6 separate regions of the Homo sapiens genome follow, and regions 2, 3, 4, 5 and 6 are each linked to region 1. The links are contacts of gene promoters, found by promoter capture Hi-C in human tissues and cell types (Jung and others, 2019). All regions are on one chromosome and are shown on one strand. Each heading gives the region's core, a stretch centred on a gene start or on the middle of the fragment in contact. The rest is flanking DNA. Distances are from core to core; before and after follow the strand shown.

Evidence for each region. The method cuts DNA at HindIII sites, captures the fragments that hold promoters and counts their contacts. A contact is called where the count stands out against the background at its distance.
Region 2: a fragment that was not itself captured here is called in contact with the fragment with the promoter of FGFBP2 in region 1 in 1 of the 25 tissues and cell types used here (H1 embryonic stem cells).
Region 3: a contact is called between a fragment that was not itself captured here and the fragment with the promoter of FGFBP2 in region 1, in 1 of the 25 tissues and cell types used here (H1 embryonic stem cells).
Region 4: a fragment that was not itself captured here is called in contact with the fragment with the promoter of FGFBP2 in region 1 in 2 of the 25 tissues and cell types used here (heart left ventricle and mesendoderm cells).
Region 5: a contact is called between a fragment that was not itself captured here and the fragment with the promoter of FGFBP2 in region 1, in 1 of the 25 tissues and cell types used here (lymphoblastoid cells).
Region 6: a fragment that was not itself captured here is called in contact with the fragment with the promoter of FGFBP2 in region 1 in 4 of the 25 tissues and cell types used here (H1 embryonic stem cells, mesenchymal stem cells, small bowel and 1 more).

What each region holds. Positions count from the first base shown.
Region 1 is chr4:15,961,443-15,965,319 of GRCh38, reverse strand. FGFBP2 (fibroblast growth factor binding protein 2) reads left to right here and starts at 2,145. Exons shown (of 2, transcript NM_031950.4): 1 at 2,145-2,882. The coding sequence starts at 2,191. The coding sequence ends at 2,862. RefSeq lists an enhancer at 1,274-2,115. The HindIII fragment of the contact is 18,537 bases long and covers 1-3,877 here.
Region 2 is chr4:16,205,458-16,209,334 of GRCh38, reverse strand. The region is part of intron 2 of TAPT1 (transmembrane anterior posterior transformation 1); the gene reads left to right. Among named protein-coding and RNA genes, the nearest start is that of TAPT1, 19 kb to the left of the region's middle. RefSeq lists a silencer at 3,480-3,529. The HindIII fragment of the contact is 4,909 bases long and covers 1-3,877 here.
Region 3 is chr4:16,180,921-16,184,797 of GRCh38, reverse strand. The region is part of intron 7 of TAPT1 (transmembrane anterior posterior transformation 1); the gene reads left to right. Among named protein-coding and RNA genes, the nearest start is that of TAPT1, 44 kb to the left of the region's middle. The HindIII fragment of the contact is 3,708 bases long and covers 1-3,566 here.
Region 4 is chr4:15,757,358-15,761,234 of GRCh38, reverse strand. It overlaps a transcript of BST1 not described here. Among named protein-coding and RNA genes, the nearest start is that of CD38, 19 kb to the left of the region's middle. The HindIII fragment of the contact is 5,413 bases long and covers 1-3,877 here.
Region 5 is chr4:15,787,587-15,791,463 of GRCh38, reverse strand. All of the region lies in intron 1 of CD38 (CD38 molecule), which reads right to left. Among named protein-coding and RNA genes, the nearest start is that of CD38, 11 kb to the right of the region's middle. The HindIII fragment of the contact is 4,271 bases long and covers 135-3,877 here.
Region 6 is chr4:15,829,651-15,833,527 of GRCh38, reverse strand. All of the region lies in intron 3 of CD38 (CD38 molecule), which reads right to left. Among named protein-coding and RNA genes, the nearest start is that of CD38, 53 kb to the right of the region's middle. The HindIII fragment of the contact is 8,209 bases long and covers 1-3,877 here.

The DNA of each region.
Region 1 (3,877 bases), core at 896-3,395:
GCTGTTTACTCCAGGGGCTCCTGAGTTGGAAGCACACAAAGGGCAAGCCTCTGTCTTAGAACTGGCCCTGTGGATTGGTACGGGGGCTGCGGACCCCACCCTAAGTCACCTCTCCAGCCTGATTCTCACCACTGCCTCCTTGCCCTTGACATTTCAGCAGTCCATAAACCTGCACTCCAGGATCACTCCTTTACAGGAAGCATTATCCTGCCTTAAGAATCTGCCCTTGGCCAGGCGCAGTGGCTCGTGCCTGTAATCTCAGCACTTAGGGAGGCTGAAGTGGGCGGATCACTTGTTAGGAGTTTGAGGCCAGCCTGGCCAACGTCGTGAAACCCCATCTCTACTAAAAACACAAAAATTAGCCTGGCATGGTGGTAGGCGCCTGTAATCCCAACTACTCAGGTGGCTGAGGCAGGACAATTGCTTGAACCTGGGAGGTGGAGGTTGCAGTGAGCCAAGATTGTGCCACTGCACTCCAGCCTGGGTGGCAAAGTAAGACTGTGTGAAAAAAAAAAAAAACCTACCTTTAGCTGGTTGTGGTGGTTCACATCTGTAATTCCAGTGACTCCAGAGGACAAGGAAGCAGGAGGATTGCTTGAGGCCTGGAGTGTGAGATCGGCCTGGACAACAGAGTGAGACCCTGTCCCTAAAAATTTTAAATTTAAAATTTAGCTGGGTGTGGCAGCCCATGCCTGTAGTCCCAGTTACTTGAGAGGCTGAGGCAGGAGAAGTAATTGAGCCCAGGAGTTGGAGGCTACAGTGAGCTATAATTACACCAGTGCAATCCGGTCTAGGTGACAGAATGAGGCCAAAACAAACAAACAAACAAACAAACAAAAAAAACACCTGCCCTTTACCCTTTCTCAACCTGACAAATTGACTGACTTGTCTTGAAGGTTTGGCACCACTTCTTGGAAGCTTCCTCTGCTCCCCACCTGGGGTGATGCCCTCTTCTGGAAGGCTCTCACTGCTACACACACAGTGGCTGCCGAAGCTCAGCCTGGCTTTAGTTCCAGCCCTACTAGGTCTTCTCAGGACTCAGGATATCCAGGTGGAAGGAAGGCTGTGCCAGGTACCAACTACCCTACGTGGGATCGCCAAGATAAATCCCTCACATTCAAACTAGTCCCCCAACATCCGTCAACCCTATTCCTAACAGCAAATTGCCACCTTTAGTCCACTCCACAGTGCCCTCTGGAAGGGTCATCAAAAGACAGTTATGACCATACCAAACTATGATTCTTGACACAGAATCAAAAGTTATTTTCAATTTATTTTTTTTCTATTGTAGAACAATAATAATAATATTTAAAATCATATTTTCCTGTGATATAATTAAAACTGTGTTATTTCAATTGAATTTGAAATAGAATTCATGGTCTAAAATAGACTGAATCCCACTGTGAACATATATTTGCATGCCTTCCTCGTCATCATTCAGTTGGTGCAATTGTAAGGCATGCAATAACAAGGGAAGTGAACATTGCAGCACTGTGGCCTGTGGCCACGGTGATGGCGGGACAGCCCCACAGAGGCCACACCAGGTGACTCTCAGCTCGGTGGGTGGGAGGGGGAGTGTCTCTGTGTCCCTCTGGCACACACATCCTCACACAACCTCACATAGTCTTTTTTGCATTTGCTAGGCCATCTCATAACACTTAGGCTCATAAAATTCTGGCTTCCTTTGGATTAACTAAACCCATGGTCCCCCAAGATGGGGATTCCAGGGAGCAGGAGGGAGCCTCGAGGCAGCCCAGACTCCCAGCTGCAAACCTCACTTTCCAGAATACCACTGCCACACCTTGGCATATACCAAATGTTGACAAAGAAGGCTGTTCCCGTACAAGGGCCAATTTTAGAGCAAGCACCCTGTGGTTGGAAAACTGTAAAACCCTCAGCCCCAAAGCTGTGTGTGGCGCTTTGTGCGTGACAGGGCTGGGGCAGATCTCTCTGAGGCACTCAGGAAAACCATTCCCTTTGCTTGTGGTGGGCGGCCCCTGGTGGCTGCTCTGCCCTTGCCAAGTGTTACGTGTCTAAGGTCTGTGGGCATGTTTCTCATTTGCTGCAAAACATCCTCCCCACCCTTGCAGAGAAAGAGTCTTTTGTGCAGCACCCTTTAAAGGGTGACTCGTCCCACTTGTGTTCTCTCTCCTGGTGCAGAGTTGCAAGCAAGTTTATCGGAGTATCGCCATGAAGTTCGTCCCCTGCCTCCTGCTGGTGACCTTGTCCTGCCTGGGGACTTTGGGTCAGGCCCCGAGGCAAAAGCAAGGAAGCACTGGGGAGGAATTCCATTTCCAGACTGGAGGGAGAGATTCCTGCACTATGCGTCCCAGCAGCTTGGGGCAAGGTGCTGGAGAAGTCTGGCTTCGTGTCGACTGCCGCAACACAGACCAGACCTACTGGTGTGAGTACAGGGGGCAGCCCAGCATGTGCCAGGCTTTCGCTGCTGACCCCAAACCTTACTGGAATCAAGCCCTGCAGGAGCTGAGGCGCCTTCACCATGCGTGCCAGGGGGCCCCGGTGCTTAGGCCATCCGTGTGCAGGGAGGCTGGACCCCAGGCCCATATGCAGCAGGTGACTTCCAGCCTCAAGGGCAGCCCAGAGCCCAACCAGCAGCCTGAGGCTGGGACGCCATCTCTGAGGCCCAAGGCCACAGTGAAACTCACAGAAGCAACACAGCTGGGAAAGGACTCGATGGAAGAGCTGGGAAAAGCCAAACCCACCACCCGACCCACAGCCAAACCTACCCAGCCTGGACCCAGGCCCGGAGGGAATGAGGAAGCAAAGAAGAAGGCCTGGGAACATTGTTGGAAACCCTTCCAGGCCCTGTGCGCCTTTCTCATCAGCTTCTTCCGAGGGTGACAGGTGAAAGACCCCTACAGGTAATACCCTTTCCTTTACTCATATACAGAGACTACGTGTATATACTTATATACAGAGACTACGTGAGAGGCACTTAGCACTTTCACAGCTGCTGCGACCACATCAGAGTCTCAGCGTGTGTTTGGGGGTGGGTTTGAGGCTGTCTGTTGCAGAGCAGTGTAGATGAGGTAGTTCATCCGGAGTGGCACTTGACCCTGGAGTTGCATAGGAATCACCTACAAGGAGCTCTAAAAATGCTGATGCCCAGGCCCCTCGCCAGACCGTTCCATCTATGTCTCCAACATAGTAGCGCAGGAATGTGGACTTTTAAAACTCTCCCCCAAGTGATTTGAATGTGCAGCCAAGGTTGAGAATCTCCTTGTGATGGAACCACCTCACTGTTAGACCGAGGCCTTTGGAATTCTGCCGGGTAACGTTTCCTAATGAACCAAGCATTTGCTGCAGCTGTTAGTGGCCGAGGTGCTATGTCATGGTGGAGGTGTCGCCACACCCCGTCTTGTTCTCAGTTTTTTCTCCTACAGTCAAGTTAGGGTGGGGAGTGTTGTGCACTGAGGAAAGTTTGAGTCAAATAGTCTTTAAAGTCTTTCTCACAGCTCTCAAAGCCTTTAATTGTTTTTTGTTCATCACAGAGGAGAAAATCTAATTAATAATAACAGATTTAATCAACTCCAAGTATTGCTTTTAAAAGACCAAACTTTTTCTTGTGGAAATAAGGCTTATTACTGATCTCTATCCTTAAATGTAGCAGCTTTCATTAATTTTGCACACCAGTAAGGAGTTCATTTACATGGGATTCTAGTCTTACTTGTGCACTTTGAGTTTAAAAGGAGAGTTTCTGAGTTTTTTTCATATTATCTATGTAAGAAAAATAGGAACAAAGCAGATTTCCTGATAAACAGCACTTTGATAACGAATACCACCAAACAAATAAGGCTTTTTCTACAAGCGCCCAGGCAGCAAGAAATGTTGGTTCACAACAAAGTTGTTTTGGTGT
Region 2 (3,877 bases), core at 762-3,261, 240 kb before region 1:
CCATAAGTTATTATAATACAGGATACAACGTGACAAGTGCTTTTAAATAGTACAAATAAAATATGAAGAATTTAGAGAAGGGGAAGTGTGCCTAGACAACAGACCTGGGACGAGGATCCAGGAAGGAAAAAGAGAGAGATTTTGTCGTATATGCTTTGTAGGATGGGGTGGCTATGCTAGGAAGATCCAGAGGTGGAAAATTGTTAGGTGTGAACAGGAAACCACCGACACATGCTGGAAAGAAAGATAGACTGGCCAACCTAGGCAATGTGGCAAAACGCTGTCTCTACAAAAAATACAAAAATTAGCCAGGAGTGGTAGTGCACGCCTGTAGTCCTAGCTACTCGAGAGACTGAGGCAGAAGGATTGCTTGAGCCCCAGAGGCAGAGGTTGCTCTGAGCTAAGATCATGCAACTGTACTCCAGCCTGGGCAACAGAGTGAGACCCTATCTCAAAAAAAGAGATAGGCTAGATCCAGTTATGTTGAATGGTCAGGCTGGAGAGTTTAGAGTTGAGTCTATGGAAGGAGACTATTAAATATATATTTCTTAGGAATGCTTTTAGCTGTATAGAATGGAAAAGCTGGCTAACAGTCATTTAAACAAGTAGGAAATTATTTTTTTCAACAAATCTAGAAGAAAAGAGGTCTCAGTTGTTGCAGCAGATTAATGAAGCTGTCACGGACCCAAGTCCTTTTCATCTTTCTATTTTGCCATCCTTGGCAAATTGGCTTTGGGTCCTCTTGCTTGTTGTCTTCTAGTAGAAAGATGACGGCTGCAACCTCGGCATTACATCTGCATTATAAACAAAGAAATGGGGTGGGCATTGCCACTTTTTTGACTATGCCTTTTATAAAGATTGAAAGATTTCCCAGACGTGGCCTGGAATACTTCCACTTCTGTCTTATTGTCCAAACTGAGCTACATAGCCATTCCCAGCTGCAAAGGAGGCTAGGACAGTGAATGTTAGGCTTTTCCAACAAACAGAAAAGAACTGAGAATGGTTATTGGGTTAGCCATCCGTCAGAGCTTTCTTTCTGGAAAATTAGTATAGTCATATTCAACATGGACTGGAAATGAGACAAGCAGGGAGAGCTCAAGATCCTTCCATGAATATAGTTAATATATAATTTAATTCTACAATTAAAATTCTAATTTAATTCTACAATTACATAATTTAATTCTACAAATTAAAATCTTCATTTGATTTACTTATTCCCCTCTCATGGTATTTATTTCTTGGGTTAAATATGTCAGATGTATGTTGTGGATTATCATGAAGCCTTTTAGCAATATTCTTTTCCGTGTTTATATATGTTCATGTAAGCTTGCATATCTGGTTAAACTAAAATGAAAATATTCTGTTGACTTTTCTTTACCTTGTAATTCTGTGCTTTTTGGCAATTCATTATTTCATTGTTACCATGCCTTGTACATTATAGCTATTTAATACATTTTTCTAAAAATTAAATTCAACTGCTTAAATAGAATGACTTAGTTTTCTTACCAATGTAGCAAATTTTTATAAGCCTTAAATTTGTCAGATTGAAGGTGTAAGTATTGATATATTGTTATTACTAGGCATAGACTATTATTGTTGAAAGGGGGAAGGGTTACTGTCATACAGGGGAATTATTTGTAATCAAGCATCAACAACCTTAGCTTCTTGAGTCTGTTTGTAATAGCTGAGGCCTGATCAAGGCATCAGATCTCTCTTGGGTTTTACTTTCTTCTATGATTAGAAGGTTGTACCTAGGTCATCTCAAGAGGTCTAATAGTGCATGATTCATTGAATGAGTTTGCCTGTGAGGAATGGTGAGGGTAGATGGAAAGATTTAAATGTCTAGTGGAGTAACTTAATTTTGCCTTTTTGAAGGTCGTGGTGGGGTTAACATTTAGGAAAAAATAATCCAAAAGTTCATTTCAAACGAACGGACTTCAAATGTCATATAAAGCCTTTTTGTTTTATGTCAGTGTGAGGATATGTTAAGAAAACGTAATGACTATTGTTTCCCCTTTATTTCAGTAAAACAGTCCTGGGATTTCATTGTGAAACTAATAGAGAGTATTTACTCAGACCCATATTTATGGCAGTGTTTTCTTGGGCATCCTAGTCAGTTTCTGATTTCATAAAAACATGTTCAGAGAATCATCCCTCTAAATTCTTCTCATAATGCAGCTCTTGCTGGTGACACACCCTTGTGCAGATGTTCCCCCTCCTTGTCCCCCAGCCCCTGCTGTGTGGCTGCTGAGAAGCAGGAAAGCCAGTAGGGATCCACATGTCTCAGAATCTCAGCAGCCTTGGCTGGTGCTTCTCCCCTTCTCTCCGAGGCTTGTCACACCCTGCTTGTGGTGGTAGTGACCACAGCTTCCACGTTCTTTCTGCAACTGTCTTACCATTCTTAATTTTCTCAGGGGAGGTTGGGCATATGAGACTCATCAGATAGTTCTAAGACAAGCCAGCAAAGCCTTTAGGCCTCTAGCACATTTATTAATGTATTTAAAAGATAATTTTTGAACTTGGCACCATGGGGCCATGTTTATCTTTGTGAATCAATCACTTATTTCTCTCATTTCAGCTTTGGAAACAGTCTTAAATTTCTCTTCTCTGTCTTTCCATTGTCCTATGTCAGGCTGCTGTGATCATTCACACTGATGGCTCTTCTCCTTCCGTACTGTCCTCTCTGCTCACTGCAGCCTGCTGTGGTGCTTCGTGCTGACCACTCCCTAGAAAGTCGATCTCATCCTAGATAGAAGGTGTAGGATCAGAGCCTAGAGCCGCAGCTAAGACCTCTGTTCCTTAGGTGACACTCAGTCTTGCCCTGGGACCCTGAGGGCACTCCTGCCTTGCTGCATCATTCCAGCCTCTCAGCAGGAGCACCACAGCCCTGTCTAAGCCCTGTCTGTAGCAAGCAAAATACCAAGTAATAGTTCCTGCCTGGTGGGTTGTTGTGAGGATCAAGTTAATGTGGGTCACGTGCTTAAAATATAACAGTATTCAACATGGATTGGAAGTAAGAGAAGCAAGAAAGTCTCAGGATCATTCTATGTGCATAGTCCTACAAATTAAAATCAATTGACTTGTTTTCCATGGCTGCATATGCTTACATAGCTTGCCTATCGTAAGAGAACTTGGCTCATGATAATCCCTTTGTTGGCCATCTCCTAGAGTATAGACTTTCTGGGGCATGAATTTTTTAATTCGGATGATTAAAATGATTTTATTGTAGGGATGACCTTGAATCTGCAGTAATTGCTTTCAAAGTCAGTCATTTATAGTTTTCTTATTGATATCCTGTTCCCCTTAACATTCTGCTGATTGTTGATCCCTATATGTGAGTTTATTGAGAACATCTTCATTCTCAGCAGAGATTTATCAAAATGTACATGTTTCAAAATAACCTAATCATCTTCAGGTACCTCTTTAAAATAAAAGAGCTATAAGTGAAAACAGTCAAAAGACAAGGATACCTTGGAACCTAAGAATGAAAATTTGAGCTCCTTAGCAATGAACTGAACGTGATTTTTATGCCTCTTGCATAATGATTATATCCTAACCTCACCACTAGGAGGCTACTCACATTGTACCTGTGCATGCTCTTTCCTTGGTTTGAAATTCGGTCCTCTTTACTGCCTGGCAAAATCTAGTGCCTGTCTTCTCTCCTCTGTGGGACATCTCTGCTATCTCTTGCACCTCCTTCCCTGTGGTGTGCATGCCACTCTCACCTGCCCCCAAATACACACGCTTTACAGACCCAGGCTCTTCACCTGTGTTTCCAGAGCACATCATTCATCTGGCACTTAGCATGCGGTTTGTGTCAAGCTCACTGGGTTGTGAATTCCCTGGAGAGGATGTCTTTCCTCCCAGTGCAGTATTA
Region 3 (3,877 bases), core at 463-2,962, 220 kb before region 1:
GGGGAAAAGGCTTGAACAGACATTTCACAAAAGAAAATCTATAAATGTCCAATAAGGTCATGAAAAGCTGCTCGGCATTATTAGGGAAAATGTCACTGGAGAAAGACAAAGCCATAATGAGATAGCACTGCACACCCTCCAGAGTGACTGCTCTTGTAGCCTGACAGTGCCACAAGTTAGGATATGGATTAACTGGCACTCAGGCATCGATGGCGTGAGTGTAAAGTATTACAACTGCTGTTTTTGGCCATTTCTTTTACAGTTAAATGTTCACCTGCCCTGTAATTCAGGAAATATATTTCCTCAGTAGGACTTGTTGCAAGAATTATTATGGCAGCTTTGTTCATACTAGCCAAAAACTGGAAACAACCCAAATAGCTATCAGTAGGAAAATAAACAAACTGTATATCCATACCATAGAATACTACTTAGCAATTAAAGATAAAAGAATGAACTCCTAATATTGTCAGCTATGTAGGTCTCAGAAGCATTATGTTGAGCAGAAAAGCCAGACACAAAAGTGTACATGATGTATTATTTCATTTATATGAAGTTTATGATCAGACAAAATTCGTTTATGATGATAGGAATAAGAGGTTGTTTGTTGGGCATTTGGATTGACTAAGGGGACTCAAAGGAGCTTTCTGGATGATGGAACTTCTTTCTGTATTAAGGGCTTGGTGTCTCAAGTTATGCATTGATCAGAACTCATCACATAATGTACTTAAGATCTGTGCATTTCACTGTATGTAAATTTTACCTGTATATTAGACAAGGAAAATAATGGCATATGAATATGTTAAACAAGTTATAGGAGATTTGAAAACTAAGCAAGGAACAAAAAGAACAAATGGAAAACTTGAACATAAAGCCTAGATGATTCTATGAGGCCATGCTGGACCTGACTCTCAAGGCTCTGAGAAGCAGTTCATATTCTTGCTGCTTATTAATGTTGCTCACCTTTCAAGTGCAGACTGCCAAGTGTCATGAATTAGAAATGAAAGAGGAAGGAGGGAAGGTACTAAATTATAGAATACTTTGCTTCAGTAGTTAACCATAGAGTAAATTGATTCAACTGTAAGAATTTCGTTTGTTGTGGAAACCATGTTTTTTTTAAATTAATTCATATTAGTAACCTCCTTTGGGTAAGTGCTCTTTATAGAGCCTTAAACTAGACACGCAGATCTTAAGTTTTAAAGGTTTTCAATCCTTGTGTATAAAAGCTTCAAAATTATGAGGGGGAAATTGTGAATGTTTTTAACCTTATGGCCAGCATGTTGATGTAATTAATACCCCTTTTCATTTTTATAAACGGGTTCCCCAGAATTCCAACCTCTTAGCTTAGAAAGATTAGGTATTCAATATTTGAGTTTTAAGAAAACTCTGGGAAAAAAAATGATATAATGATCAGGTATGCATATCAGTCTACAAGAAATTTGGACTTTATTTTGGCTTAAAATGGTTACTACTTAGCACCAAAAAAAAAATTACTTTTTGCTGTAAGCAAAGTAGCTCATGTTACAATGCAAGGTGGTCCGCATTGTACCCTTTAAGAGTTTTATAAGAAATTAACTTTACCCTAAGGCAGATTTTAAGACCCTTCTCAAGTAAGAAAAAAAATATTCTAGGCAACGTTCAGCTATTAAAATGGAAAGATCAGGAGTCACCAAGAGGTGCTTTTTACTCTTTATATGAATATGTTGCCTTCTTCATATGCTTCAGTAGTAGCTACTTAATGAGAGCCAGTCAGGAGGGATACTCATATCGGCTATTTTTTTCTTATGAATTTTCCTATGAATTTTTTCTCCATCAGAATTTGAGTTGCCAGATACGTAGTGTAAGGTTCAGTCCTTCATGCTGGTTTAATATAGAAGACTTCATGGAGAAATCTGAGAGTAACTTTACCCCTTTCAGTGGTAGCTCACTGTATATTTTCTTTGGAGGAATTGCCTGAGGACATGTGAAAAGTAGTTTAGTTACCAAAACCAGATTTTTAACAAATTATCCTTTTCTTCACTTCATTTTAACATAAGCGTTAGCTGAATGTGGAACCCCAGCCTTTCTGGTTTGCATTCTTGAGATGAAGAATTTTAGGTAGTTTTTTACGCATTGGTAATGTGAACTGTGCATTTAGAAAGGTCCTTCAGGAGTTAGGTTGTCTGGAGTAAGCTTATAGCTCACTTAGCACTCTTAGAAGCCTGCATATCTGCAATAAATGTGGATGTTTGTTGGAAATAGTCACTCATTTTATATTTAAAATGTGACTGCAAGTATGTTAAAGTATATCCCTGTTAGTGGTAATATAGCAAGGAAAAAGCTTAATAACCTGAATGTCAGAAATATTTTAAAAGCATTAATACCAATGTTTTTAAGCTTCTTAATAAAGGTTAGGAGAAAACATTCCTAGAAATTTTAATTTTTAATCAATGTAAGAGTTCAGTTCTAATCCGAACCCTGACTATTCTGAAGATGAGATGGTATAAATATGTTGCTGATTGCATTATTTATCTAATATATGTTTGATTATCAGTATCAGACTCTGTTATTCTCATAAAAATTTTATTTCTTTTTATATCTTACTTTGGAGAAACTTAAAATTTGGGTATTTTTTAACTCAAATTTTAAAAGTCAAATCTTGATTTTATAATGTCTATGTAAAACATTTAAATGTAAAAGTTGTGAAAGTGTAAGAATAAAACTTCCAAAAAATCTTCACATAACAGCCTCATTTTTATAGTTAGATATAGTTTTGTATCTTTATCTTATCAAATAAAGATAGAGTTAATTTTTATGGTGTCACTTTTTAATCTTTAAGCTTGCCATCCTTCACATCCTTCATCTTATAAAATCGCATTCATTTACCAAATTTATCCATTTTTATTAATCTCTATCATATTTTGAAATAGTCTGCTTTTCTAAAATTTGTTTTGGGCCAGGCACAGTGGCTCACGCCTGTAATCCCAACACTTTGGGAGGCCAAGATGGGCGGATCACCTGAGATCAGGAGTTGGAGACCAGCTTGGCCAACATGGTGAAACCCTGTCTCTGCTAAAAATATAAAAATTAGCCGGGCATGGTGGCACATGCCTGTAATCCCAGCTACTCCGGAGGCTGAGACAGGAGAATTGCTTGAACCCGGGAGGTGGAGGCTGCATCCAGCCTGGGAGACAAAGCAAGACTCTTGTCTCAAAAAAATAAAAAAATCTTAAAAAATAAAATCTGTTTTGCCTTAAATACACCTTTAATGAGATAAGTTTTTCCCCCTTTCATCAGTATCCTTAGAAATGAAATTATTGCAGATTTTCTCTATACTTGCAGCTGCCATATGTCCAAAAATCAAATACAATTAATTTAAATTCGATGGTAGTTTTGCTTTGTTAGAGTTTACAAAAGTTACTTTGGCTCATTTCAGATAGTGTTTTAAATTTCTCAAGGCCATTTATTTTCAGATAATTCTGTAATGAAGCAAGTCTATATTATACATGTTTGGGAAGTATCAAAAATAAATACATTTCATTGTTAAATTCATTTATGGAAATTAGAAAGGACTTAGCACACATATAGGTACAGCTTGGTGAATAATTCTACAGAATTCCAATTAAAGATACATTGGTAAATTTAACCCCATGAATTAAGATCCACAGTTAGCTGTAGTAACAAAGAATATATTTTGTGTCAGACTTTGATGGAACTTATTCTAGGGCAGACTTTTCTTAGTTTCCTTTAACCTGTATCCTCTTTTGAAGTCACAGAATAAATTAAACATGTGATCTAGACAAATCAAAACAGGTGCACCTGAAAATCCACATGGCCTTGCTCCGGAGGTGCCCTGCCTCCTAAAGAGGCATCTCAGTGCTTGGTACCTTGAGACTCACTG
Region 4 (3,877 bases), core at 725-3,224, 200 kb after region 1:
ATCTCCACTAAAAATACAGAAAATTAGCCGGGCATGGTGGAACATGCCTGTAATCCCAGCTACTCGGGAGGCTGAGGCACAAGAATCACTTGAACCCGGGAGGCGGGGGTTGAGGTGAGCTGAGGTTGTGCCACAGCACCCCAGCCTGGGCAACAAGAGCGAAACTCTGTCTTAAAAAACAAAACAAAACAAAACAAAACAAAAAAACTATATGCCATACATAATGTTTAAACAAAAATATGTTGGCTGGGTGCAGGGGGCTCACACCTGTAATCCCAGCACTTTGAAAGGCCAAGGCAGGCAGATTACTCAGGAATTTGAAACCAGCCTGGGCAACATGGTGAAACCCCATCTCTACTAAAAATACCAAAAAAAAAAAAAAGCTAGGCGTGGTGGTGCACACCTGTGGTCCCCACTACTCATGAGGCTGAAGTAGGAGGATCACCTGAGCCCAGGAAGTGGAGACTGCAGTAAGCCAAGATCACACCACTGCACTTCAGCCTGGGTAAAAGAGACCTTATCTCGAAAAATAAATAAATAAATAAATAAATATATAGTATATATTTATTTATGCATGCTTACATATATAAGGAAAAATTATATTTTTACCAGACAACTATTAATTCATTTATTCAATTTATTTAATAAATAGTTTTAAGTTTACCATATGTCAGCACTGGATCAGCGATGAACAAACCAGACAAAAATCCCTGCCCTCAGCTACTTTAGAAAATAATCTGGCAATTCCTCAAAATGTTAAGCAGAGTGAACATGACCTGGAAATTCCACTCCTGGATATCTACCCAAGAGATATGAAAACATATGTTCACACAGAAATGTACATGAAGGTTCATAAAGGCATTATCATAATAATTGATAAACAGAAACAACCCAAATATCCTTAATTGATGAATGGATAAACAAAATGTGATATGCCCACACAGCGGAATATTATTGAGCCAAAAAAAAAAATGAAATGCTAACGCATACCACAACATGGACGTACCTCAAAAACATGCCAAGTGTAAGAAGCTAGTCACAAGAAGTAACATATTGTATAATTCCACTTACATGAGATATCCAGACTAGGCAAATCCATAGAGACGGAAAGTAGATTAGAAGTTCCCTAGGGCTGCATGTTGGGGAATGAGGAGTGACAGCCCAATAGGAATGGGGTTTCCTTGGGGTTGAGAGGAATGTTCTAAACTTGTGTGATAGTCACAAAACTGAATATGCTAAAAACTACTAAATCATATACTTTCAGGATAAATTTTATGTTTGTAAATTCGATCTCAAAAAAAGATGTTAAACAAAATCCCTCCTCACATAGGGTTTATGGTTTCTGGTGTAACTCCCTTCCATTTTTCCTGGTTCTGATATGAAGATAGCCCATTCCAGATTTGATGCCACTGGGTAAATACTGGGAGTGGAGGGGGGAAGTAAAGGAGAAAGCGGGGTATTGAGCCTTTATTAACTTATGGTAATATCCAACTAAATAGTAGCTCTTTGGTGCTGTACCCCATGACACCCCCTGTTACAGAAACAGGGAAAATGGTTTCCATTGGCAGAATAGTCATACGCTGCCTCTTACCAACTCTTAGGAAGAGAAATAAGGAATGAGGAAGAAGAAAGGGGATGGAAGAGAAGTGAAGAAGTGAGAAAAACAGGAGGAGGAAGAAGTTAGAGAAAGAAAAAAGAAGAAAAATGAAAATAGATGAGAAGTTAAGGTAGAAGAAAATGAAGGAGGAAATGGAGCAGAAACATTAACTGAGCATTTACTAAGTGCCAAACACCATACTGGGGTCTTTCTATACACAGTGTTATCAAATCTGCATAATAACCCCATGAGGTAAATATTCTTACTATACCTGCTTTACAGATTTGAAAACTTGAGTGTGGTGAATACAGCATTTTCAGAGGTGCCACTGCTGGGCGTTCTACCAGTCAGCCCTTGAGCAGCACATCCATCTTCTTTCGCCCAGAAATCTGGGTAGTGGGCTCCATAGTGGACCAGTAGTATAATCTGGATGTTATTCTTGGCTCTTTCCTTAGTCCTTCTCCGTCCCTGAGATGCTTGAGCTTCCTAATATTCTGTAATATACACCAGGAGATAGTTTTTGATATACATAACTAGGAATTTTGACTATGGCAGACAGAGGTCAGTTAACTTAACTGAGGACACACAGATACGTGTGGTGGAAATGGGACTTGATGCCTGTCCACCTGATTCCAAGCATTGACTCTTAGCCATGATTTCCTACAAAAGGCACTGAGGTGTGTAGGCCATAGCTCCGTAATCCACCTGCAGTGAAGACAACACCAGCATGCAGGTTGTGGTTCAGGTGGGAAATGTTTTGTTCTGTTTCATTCCATAGAAATAGGTAGGCATTGACGCCAAATACTTTATACATACTAAAACTTAATTAAATGATCTTAAATAATACTGCATATTCTCACTTAAATGAAGAATCTAAAACAATCAAACTCGTAGAACCAGAGAATAAACTGGTGGTTACAGAGGCTAGAGGGTGAGGGTGTTAGGGAGATGATGAACAAGGTACAAAAATCTCAGAAGGAATATGGAAGTTTCTTTGAAATCTATTGCATAGTGTGGTGAATATAGTTAACAAACAGTATCATACATTTCAAAATTGCTAAGAGAGTAAATTTCAAATGTTCTCATGACAAAAAAATGCTAAGGATATGATTTCATTCTTTTTTATGGCTGCATAGTATTCCACATATTTAGCAGCAACATGGATACAGCCGCAAAAGATGTAGCTTAGGATAATGGAGGCCATTGTCCTAAGTGTATTGATGCAGGAACAGAAAATCAAATGCCACATGTTCTCACGTTTAAGTGAAAGCTAAATATTGAGTGCACATGGACATAAAGATGGAAACAATAGACGCTGGGGACTACTAGAGGAGACAGGGCGGAAGGGGAGGGACGGCTGAAAAACCAGCTGTCAGGTACTATGCTCACTACCTGGGTGATAAGATCATTAGTATACCAAACCCCAGTGACACACAATTTGCCTGTGTAACAAACCTGCCCATGTACCCCCTGAAACTAAAATAAAAGTTGAAAAAAAATGCTAAATATTTGAGATGATGGATATGTTAACTAGCTTAATTTAATTATCCTACATTGTATTTATAAATTATAACATCACGTTGTATCCAGAAATATACACAATTATAAATTGTCAATTTACAATAAAAATTGTTATTAAAAATGCTGATGTTATTGGGTTTTTAAAACATTAGACATTTAATGTTTAAGAAAATCCCACCGGGCGCGGTGGCTCATGCCTGTAATCCCAGCACTTTGGGAGGCCGAGGAGGGCGGATCACCTGAGGTCGGGAGTTCAAGACCAGCCTGATCAACATGGAGAAACCCTGTCTCTACTAAAAATACAAAAATTAGCTAGGTGTGGTGGCGCATGCCTGTAGTCCAAGTTACTTGGGAGGTTGAGGCAGGAGAATCACTCGAACCCAGGAGATGGAGGTTGCAGAGAGCCGAGATCCTGCCATTGCACTCCAGCCTGGGCAACAAGAGCAAAACTCTTTCTCTAAATAAATAAATAAATAAATAAAATTTTTAAAAGAAATTCCCTATAAAGGATTCTCTGTAATATTAATGGAAAGAAATGGTGAAGAGGGAGTGAAGTTGAGGAGAAGTTTTCTTTAACAGGGGACCACTGTTCAGAACAGTCTGCGGGGCGGGGTGGGGGTGTGCTTTTGTCCTCTTTATAGACAGGAGGATCATTATTCTGTTCAGCCAAGGTCACAGGACTAGGACAGTGGAGCTGGTATTTGACCTTGGGCCCAAAAAAATACACTGCAGTTCGTGCAGGGAGAACCAAATGGTCTA
Region 5 (3,877 bases), core at 1,021-3,520, 170 kb after region 1:
ACGGGGCGGCTGGCCGGGCAGAGGGGTCCTCACTTCCCAGTACGGGCGGACGGGCAGAGGCGCCCCTCACCTCCCGGACGGGGCGGCCGGCCGGGCGGGGGGCTGACCCCCACCACCTCCCTCCCGGACGGGGCGGCTGGCCGGGCAGGGGGCTGACCCCCCCTCCCCCCTCCCGGACGGGGTGGCTGGCCGGGCAGAGGGGCTCCTCACTTCCCAGTACGGGCGGCCGGGCAGAGGCGCCCCTCACCTCCCGGACTGGGCGGCTGGCCGGGCGGGGGGCTGACCCCCCCACCTCCCTCCCGGACGGGGCGGCTGGCCGGGCAGAGGGGCTCCTCACTTCCCAGTAGGGGCGGCCGGGCAGAGGAGCCCCTCACCTCCCGGACGGGGCAGCTGGCCGGGCGGGGGGCTGACCCCCCCCCACCTCCCTCCCGGACGGGGTGGCTGCCGGGCGGAGACGCTCCTCACTTCCCAGACGGGGTGGCCGCCGGACGGAGGGGCTCCTCACTTCTCAGACGGGGCGGTTGCCAGGCAGAGGGTCTCCTCACCTCTCAGACGGGGCGGCCGGGCAGAGACACTCCTCACCTCCCAGACAGGGTTGCGGCCCAGCAGAGGCGCTCCTCACATCCCAGACAGGGCGGCGGGGCAGAGGTGCTCCCCACATCTCAGACGATGGGCGGCCGGGCAGAGACGCTCCTCACTTCCTAGATGGGATGGCGGCGGGGAAGAGGCGCTCCTCGCCTCCTAGATGGGATGGCGGCCGGGCAGAGACGCTCCTCACCCTCCAGACTGGGCAGCCAGGCAGAGAGGCTCCTCATATCCCAGACGATGGGGGGCCAGGCAGAGACGCTCCTCACTTCCCAGACGGGGTGGCGGCCGGGCAGAGGCTGCAATCTCGGCACTTTGGGGGGCCAAGGCAGGCGGCTGGGAGGTGGAGGTTGTAGCGAGCCGAGATCACGCCACTGCACTCCAGCCTGGGCACCACCGAGCACCGAGTGAACGAGACTCCGTCCGCAATCCCGGCACCTCGGGAGGCCGAGGCCGGCGGATCACTCGCGGTCAGGAGCTGGAGACCAGCCCGGCCAACACAGCAAAACCCCGTCTCCACCAAAAAAAAAAAACGAAAACCAGTCAGGCGTGGCGGCGTGCGCAGGCACTCGGCAGGCTGAGGCAGGAGAATCAGGCAGGGAGGTTGCAGTGAGCCGAGATGGCAGCAGTACCGTCCAGCTTTGGCTCGGCATCAGAGGGAGACCGTGGAAGGAGACCGTGGAGAGAGAGGGAGAGGGAGGGGGAGGGGGAGGGAGAGGGGGAGAGGGAGAGGGAGAGGGAGAGGGAGAGGGAGAGGGAGAGGGAGAGGGAGAGCGGCTTGCTGCTTTTCAAGGCCTTTGCACATGCTGTTCCTTTTACCTAGGATGTTCTCCCCAGATATTTCTATGTTTCACTCTCCCTCTTTCTTTAGGTCTTTGCTAAGAGGACACCTTCCAGTAAAGCCTCCTGTTTTAGTCATTTTCTGTTGCTTATAGCAGAATACCTGAAGCTGGGTAATTTATTTTAAAAATGAATTTATTCCTTAAAGTTATGGAGGCCAAAAAGTCCAAGGTTTAGGGGACACATCTGGTGACAGCCTTCTTGCTTACCAGAACTCCGCAGAGTCCTGAGGCAGGACAGGGCATCACACGGTGAGGAGGGTGAGCATGCTAGCTCAAGTCCCTTTTCCTCTCCTTGTAAAGCCTGCCATTTCATTCCAAGGATAACCCATTGATCCATTAACCCATTAGCGTATTAATCAGTAATCCATGAATGGATTAATCCATTCATGAGGGCAGATCTCTCATGACCCAGTCACCTCCTAAAGGGCCAATCTCTCATCCTGCCACTTCTGGGATTACATTTCAAACATGAGTTTTGGAGGGGACAAATGTGCAAACCATAGCATCTTCTTTACTTTAGGTTTCCATACCTAAAAAAGAAATCCCCAAAGTTTATGGCTTTTTATCGCCCTGAGAAACTAACCACTTTTAAATGTACTCGGTGCCTCAAGATGTTCTTTGAACTGAGTTTATCATCTTGCTGATTCCTTCATAAATGAGTAAGTTGTAAACACTACACAGCACTCTTTTTAATACTTTCCACCATCTGCCATACTATGTATTTTTCTGTTTCAATGTCTGTCTCCCCTACTAGAATATAAGTTCCATGTGAGCAAGAATTTCATCTGTTTTGTTTACTGCTATATCTCCAGGATCTAAAAGAGTTTCTGGGACATCATAGGAGCTCAATACATATTTATTGAATAGATATCTTACAAAAATACCTAAAACGTGGAAATAAGGCAAAAAGATGGGCAGCATGTCTTTTCAGAGTCACACTGGGGTACTGTTTGCCAGGTTTACCAAGAATTACTTAATTATCTGGTAAAACATATATTTGTCTTTTCTATTTACCATTCATTAATAACTCTATGAAGTTTTATTCGAACCTTATGAAGTTAGATGGTAACTTGGAGATCTTTTCTGTTAAGTATGCAAATAATTTCTGTCTGATAAAAAAGAAATCCCCAACGTTTATAGCTTTTTATTGCCCTGAGAAACATTAACCAGTTTTATATCTACTCAGAGCCTCAAAATATTCTCTGAACTAAGTTTGTCATTTTGCTGATTCCTTCATAAATGAGTAAATCAATCTTTGATGTGTGTTGATTCTGCATGCTATGAAAGCCACGCTCTTACCTTTTTGAAAACTGATGTTAAATTGTGATGAGCTGGGCAAATTCAGCTGTTACTCTTGCCTATTCACTATTCGGGGTCCTGATTCTGATGTGTGTTTACACAGCACACACCTACCCCCGTGCAACAAGTCTGTTCTTCATCAGCAGAGAACACTCAGATGCACCCCACCTCCCATCAGATTCATCCAAGCTAAGCAGCCCCAGGACCTTGACTCTCTTCATCTGGCTTCTCATCCTGCCTCCCCTCTGTTTGGGGACCTGCGCTCATATGTCAGTCACTTTTTTTTAAAGTAAGCTCCCAGGACTGAAGGTGCATGGAATGATGATGGGATCTTCCTGGGGGCGGATAACGTGTCAGGTTTCCCTGTTTCGGCTGACAAACAACATGTTTCTAATGCAGAATCACAAGGAAATGTCACCTCTCAGAGCAACTCCAACCAATTGGTAGCATCTCCATGGTGCACTGGGTGGAAGATTCTGAGGCTGAACCAGGCTCATCCAATATGCTCTGAACAATCAGCAATGCCCATCATGGGCACAGTACTAGGAGTGCCAGGTGCATGCTGCATACTTCCTGACCCAGCTCTAAGAAGTGATTGTTAAGGTGAGATCAAATATAGGAGATCAGTCAGAGTAGTGGGAGAACCGATAGGGAAAGAAGAAGACCTTTTGAAAGGTCAGAAGGCTCTGCAAAGCTTCGGGGGAGAATAAGCTGAAGGCAGCTGTTCTCTTACCCTGACGCAGAGGGCGAGGAGTGGGTACAAGGGAATGTAGGGGAGTTTGTCTAAATAAGCTTGTTTACTTCCGGAAACCAACCTTTCATCATCCTCTGGCGAGACTGCTCCCTGCACGGCGGAACAACAATGTTAATTACCCACAGACTGCGTTGGCTCCAGGCTTTCGGCATTATGTCTGTACTGAATAAAAGTGAGCAGCTCCAGTTTATTGAGACTGCTGACTCTTCGGCAGTCCCCTAGCCGCTCTTTCACTGCGTACCTGTGTCTGAGTACTCCTTTCATCTGTCGCTCAGCCAGGGTCTGCAGGGCAGACCCGGCAATTAAACCACAAGGAACACGTCCTGGCAACCAGGAGAGGACGTGGCATTCTGCCGCTTTACCTACAAAGATTCGTAATCATTCCTGAAGTACAAAG
Region 6 (3,877 bases), core at 614-3,113, 130 kb after region 1:
ACACAAATAAAAAAGAAACATTCCCATGTGTAGATATAAATAATTATTGTGGAGTCAAAAGGAATTATCTTCCCAACAGAGGTAAAAATGTTGATGGTGGAATGGACATACATTTCATAAGGTGCTTTAAAGTATATATGTTTTCATGAAAATAAACCTCTTTTATCTTCACAACGACATCTGGAGAGAATTCATCACCTACTAACTGAAGAGCCCTTGGGCCCTGAAAAACCAGAAGTGATACCCAATTAGTATGTCATGGGCCTTGGGTGAGACTCTGTGACTTGCTGGCTTCAGGTACAGCCACAGAGAGGTAGAGCACCAACTGGGCTTGGGGTCCCTGATTCCAGGATGTGGCTCTTGGATAGCATTTCTGGGCCTGCCCTGGGCCAGAGGGGAGCCCACTGCTTTGAAGGGTGAGTCCCAGGCCAGGCAGCATTAACCACAAGCTGACTGAAGAGTCCTTGGGCCTTGGAATATTAACAGTACACTGGCAGTACTCCCTGTGGGCCTGTGGTGGTGGTGGCCATGAGGTGAGGCTCCTTTGCCTTAGAAAAGGGGAAGACAGCATGGGAAGGACTGTGTCTTGTGGTTTGAATGCCAGCTTAGTCACAGTACAATGCAATACTAGGTAGACTTCTAAGGTTTTTTACTCTAGTCCCTGGCTTCTGGATGGCACCTCTGGACCAACCCAGGGCCTTGGGAAACTTGCCAACCTGAAGAGAAGAACACGGGTCTGGCTGGCTTTCTCACCTACTGATTGTAGAGCCCCAGAGCCTTGAGCAAATATAGATGGCAGCTAGGAAGTGGTTACTGCAGGCCCTGGGCAAGTGCTGTACTGGCTTCAAGTCTTACCCAGCAAAGTCCTAGTTGCGGTGGAGTGTGTCACCAGCTTTATGTGGGTCAGAACAGAAAGAGAGAGACTCTGGGAGAAAGTAAAGGGACTAGAAAAAGAATCTCTGCCTGGTAATCCAGAGAATCCTTCTAGATCTTGTCCAAGACCATCAAGGTGGTACCTCCATGAGTGTGTACAAGACCCACAGCATTACTAGGCTTGCAGGGCCCCCTACAGCAGATACAACGTAGATCACAACATCCGAGTCCTTCAAAATATCTGGAAAGCCTTTCCAAGGACAAGTACAAACAGGCCCAGGTTGTAAAGACTACAATAAATACAATGCCTAGATGCAGAAAAATATCTACAAGTATCAAGACCATCCAGGAATACATGACCTCACCAAATGAATTAAATAAGACATCAGAGATCAATCCTGAAGAAACAGAGATATGTGAGACAGAGAATTCAAAATAGCCATGTTGAGGAAACTGAAAGAAATTCAAGAATTCTATCAGATGAATTTAACAAAGAGATGGAAATAATTAAAAAGAATCAAGTAGAAATTCTGGAGCTGAAAAGTACAAATAACACACTGAAGAATGCATCAGAGTCTTTTTATAGCAGAACTGATCAAGCAGAAGAAAGAATTTGTGAGCTTGAAGACAGGCTATTTGAAAATACACAGTCAGAGGAGACAAAAGAAAAAAGAATAAAAAACAATGAAGCACACTGGCAGGATCTAGAAAATTGCCTTAAAAGGGCAAATCCAAGAGTTATTGGTGTCAAAGAGGAGGTAGAAAAAGAGATACAGGTAGAAAGTTTATTCAAAGCAATAATAACAGAGAACTTTGCAAACCTAGAGAAAGATATCAATATCCCAAGTACAAGAAGGTTATAGAACACCAAGCAGATTTAACCCAAGAATGCTGCCCCAAAGCATTTGATAATCAAACTCCCAAAGGTCCAAGATAAAGAAAGGATCCTAAAAGCAGCAAGAGAAAAGAAACAAATAGCATACAAGGGAGTTTCAGTACATCTGGCAGCAGACTTTTCAGTGGAAACCTTACAGGCCAGATGAGAGTGGCATGACATATTTGAAGTGCTGAAAGACAAAAAAAAAAGTTTTTACTCTAGAATAGTATATCTGGTGAAAATATCCTTCAAACTTGAAGGAGAAACACAGACTTTTCCAGACAAACAAAAGGTGAGGGATTTAATTAACACGAGACCTGTCCTAGAAGAAATGCTAAAGGGAGTACTTCAATTAGAAAGAAAAGGATATTAATGAGCAATTTAATCATCTGAAGGTACAAAACTCACTGGCAGTAGTAAGTACACAGAAAACCACAGAATGTTATAACACTGTAACTATGACGTGTAAACTACTCTTGTCTTAAGTAGAAAAACTAAATGATGAGCCAATCAGAAATAATAACTACAATAACTTTTCAAGACATATAAAGTACAATAAGACATAAATAGAAACAACAAAAAGTTTTAGAGTGGGAGAATGAAGTTAAGGTATAGAGTTTGTATTAGCTTTCTGTTTGCTGTCTTTGTTTCTTTATGCAAACTGTGTTAAGTTGTTATCAGCTTAAAATAATGGGATATAAGATACTATTTTTAAGCCTCATGGTAACTTCAAACTCAAAAACATATAACAGTTCCACAAAAAATAAAAAGCAGGAAACTGAAAAAATCACCTCCACTGAAAGGAAGACAGAAAGGAAAGAAAGAAGGAAGAGAAGACCACAAAACAAACAGAAAACAAGTAACAAAATGGCAGGAGTAAGTCCTTACTTAAAAATATAACATTTACGTCAAATGTAAATGGACTAAACTCTACAATCAGAAGGCACAGAGTGGCTCAATGGATAAAAATGAAACTAGACCCCTATCTCAAATCACATACAAAAATAAAATCAAAATAGATTAAAGATTTAAATCTAAGACCTCAAACTATGAAACTACTGCAAACTACTACAAGAAACCACTGGGGAAACTCTCCATGACATTTGTCTGGGCAAAAAAAATTATTGAGCAATACCCCATGAGCACAGGCAACGAAAGCAAAATGAACAAACAGGATCACATCAAGTTAAAAAGCTTCTGCATAGCAAAGGAAACAATCAACAAAGTGAAGAGAGAGCCCACAGAATGGGAGAAAATATTTGCAAACTACCCATTCAAGAAGGCATTAAAAACCAGAATAGATAAGTAATTCAAACAACTCTATAGGAAAGAAATCTAATAATCCAATTAAAAATGGGCAAAAGATTTGAATACATATTTCTCAAAAGAAGACATACAAATGGCAAACAGGCATATGAAAATGTGTTCAAATCATTGACCATCAGATAAATGCAAATCAAAACTATCATGAGATATCATCTCACCCCAGCTAAAATGGCTTTCATCCAAAAGTCAGGCAATAACAAATAATGATGAGGATGTGGAGAAAGGGGAACCCTTGTACACTGTTGGTGGGAATGTGAATTAGTACAACCACTATGGAGAACAGTTTTGAGGTTTCTCAAAAAAATAAAAATAGAGCTATTATATGATCCAGCAATGCCACTGCTGGATATATACCCAACAGAAAGAAAATCAGTCAATGGAAGAGATATCTGCACTCCCATGTTTATTGCAGCACTGTTCACAATAGCCAAGATATGGAAACAACCTAAATGTCCATCAATAGATAAATGGATAAAGAAAATGTGGTATTTATACACAATGGAGTACTATTCAGCCACAAAAAAGAATGTGTTCCTGTCATTTGCAACAACATGAATAGAACTGGAGGTCATTATGTTAAGTGAAATAAGCTAGACACAGAAAGATAAACATAGGATGTTCTCACTTATTTTAGCATCCAACAAATCAAAACAACTGATCTCATGGACATGGAGAATAGAAAAATGGTTACCAGACGCTGGGAAGTGTAGCAAGACATTGTGGGGAGGTGGGGATGGTTACCAAAAAATAGTTAGAATGAATAAGACCTATTATTTGATAGCACAGTATGGTGACTGTAGT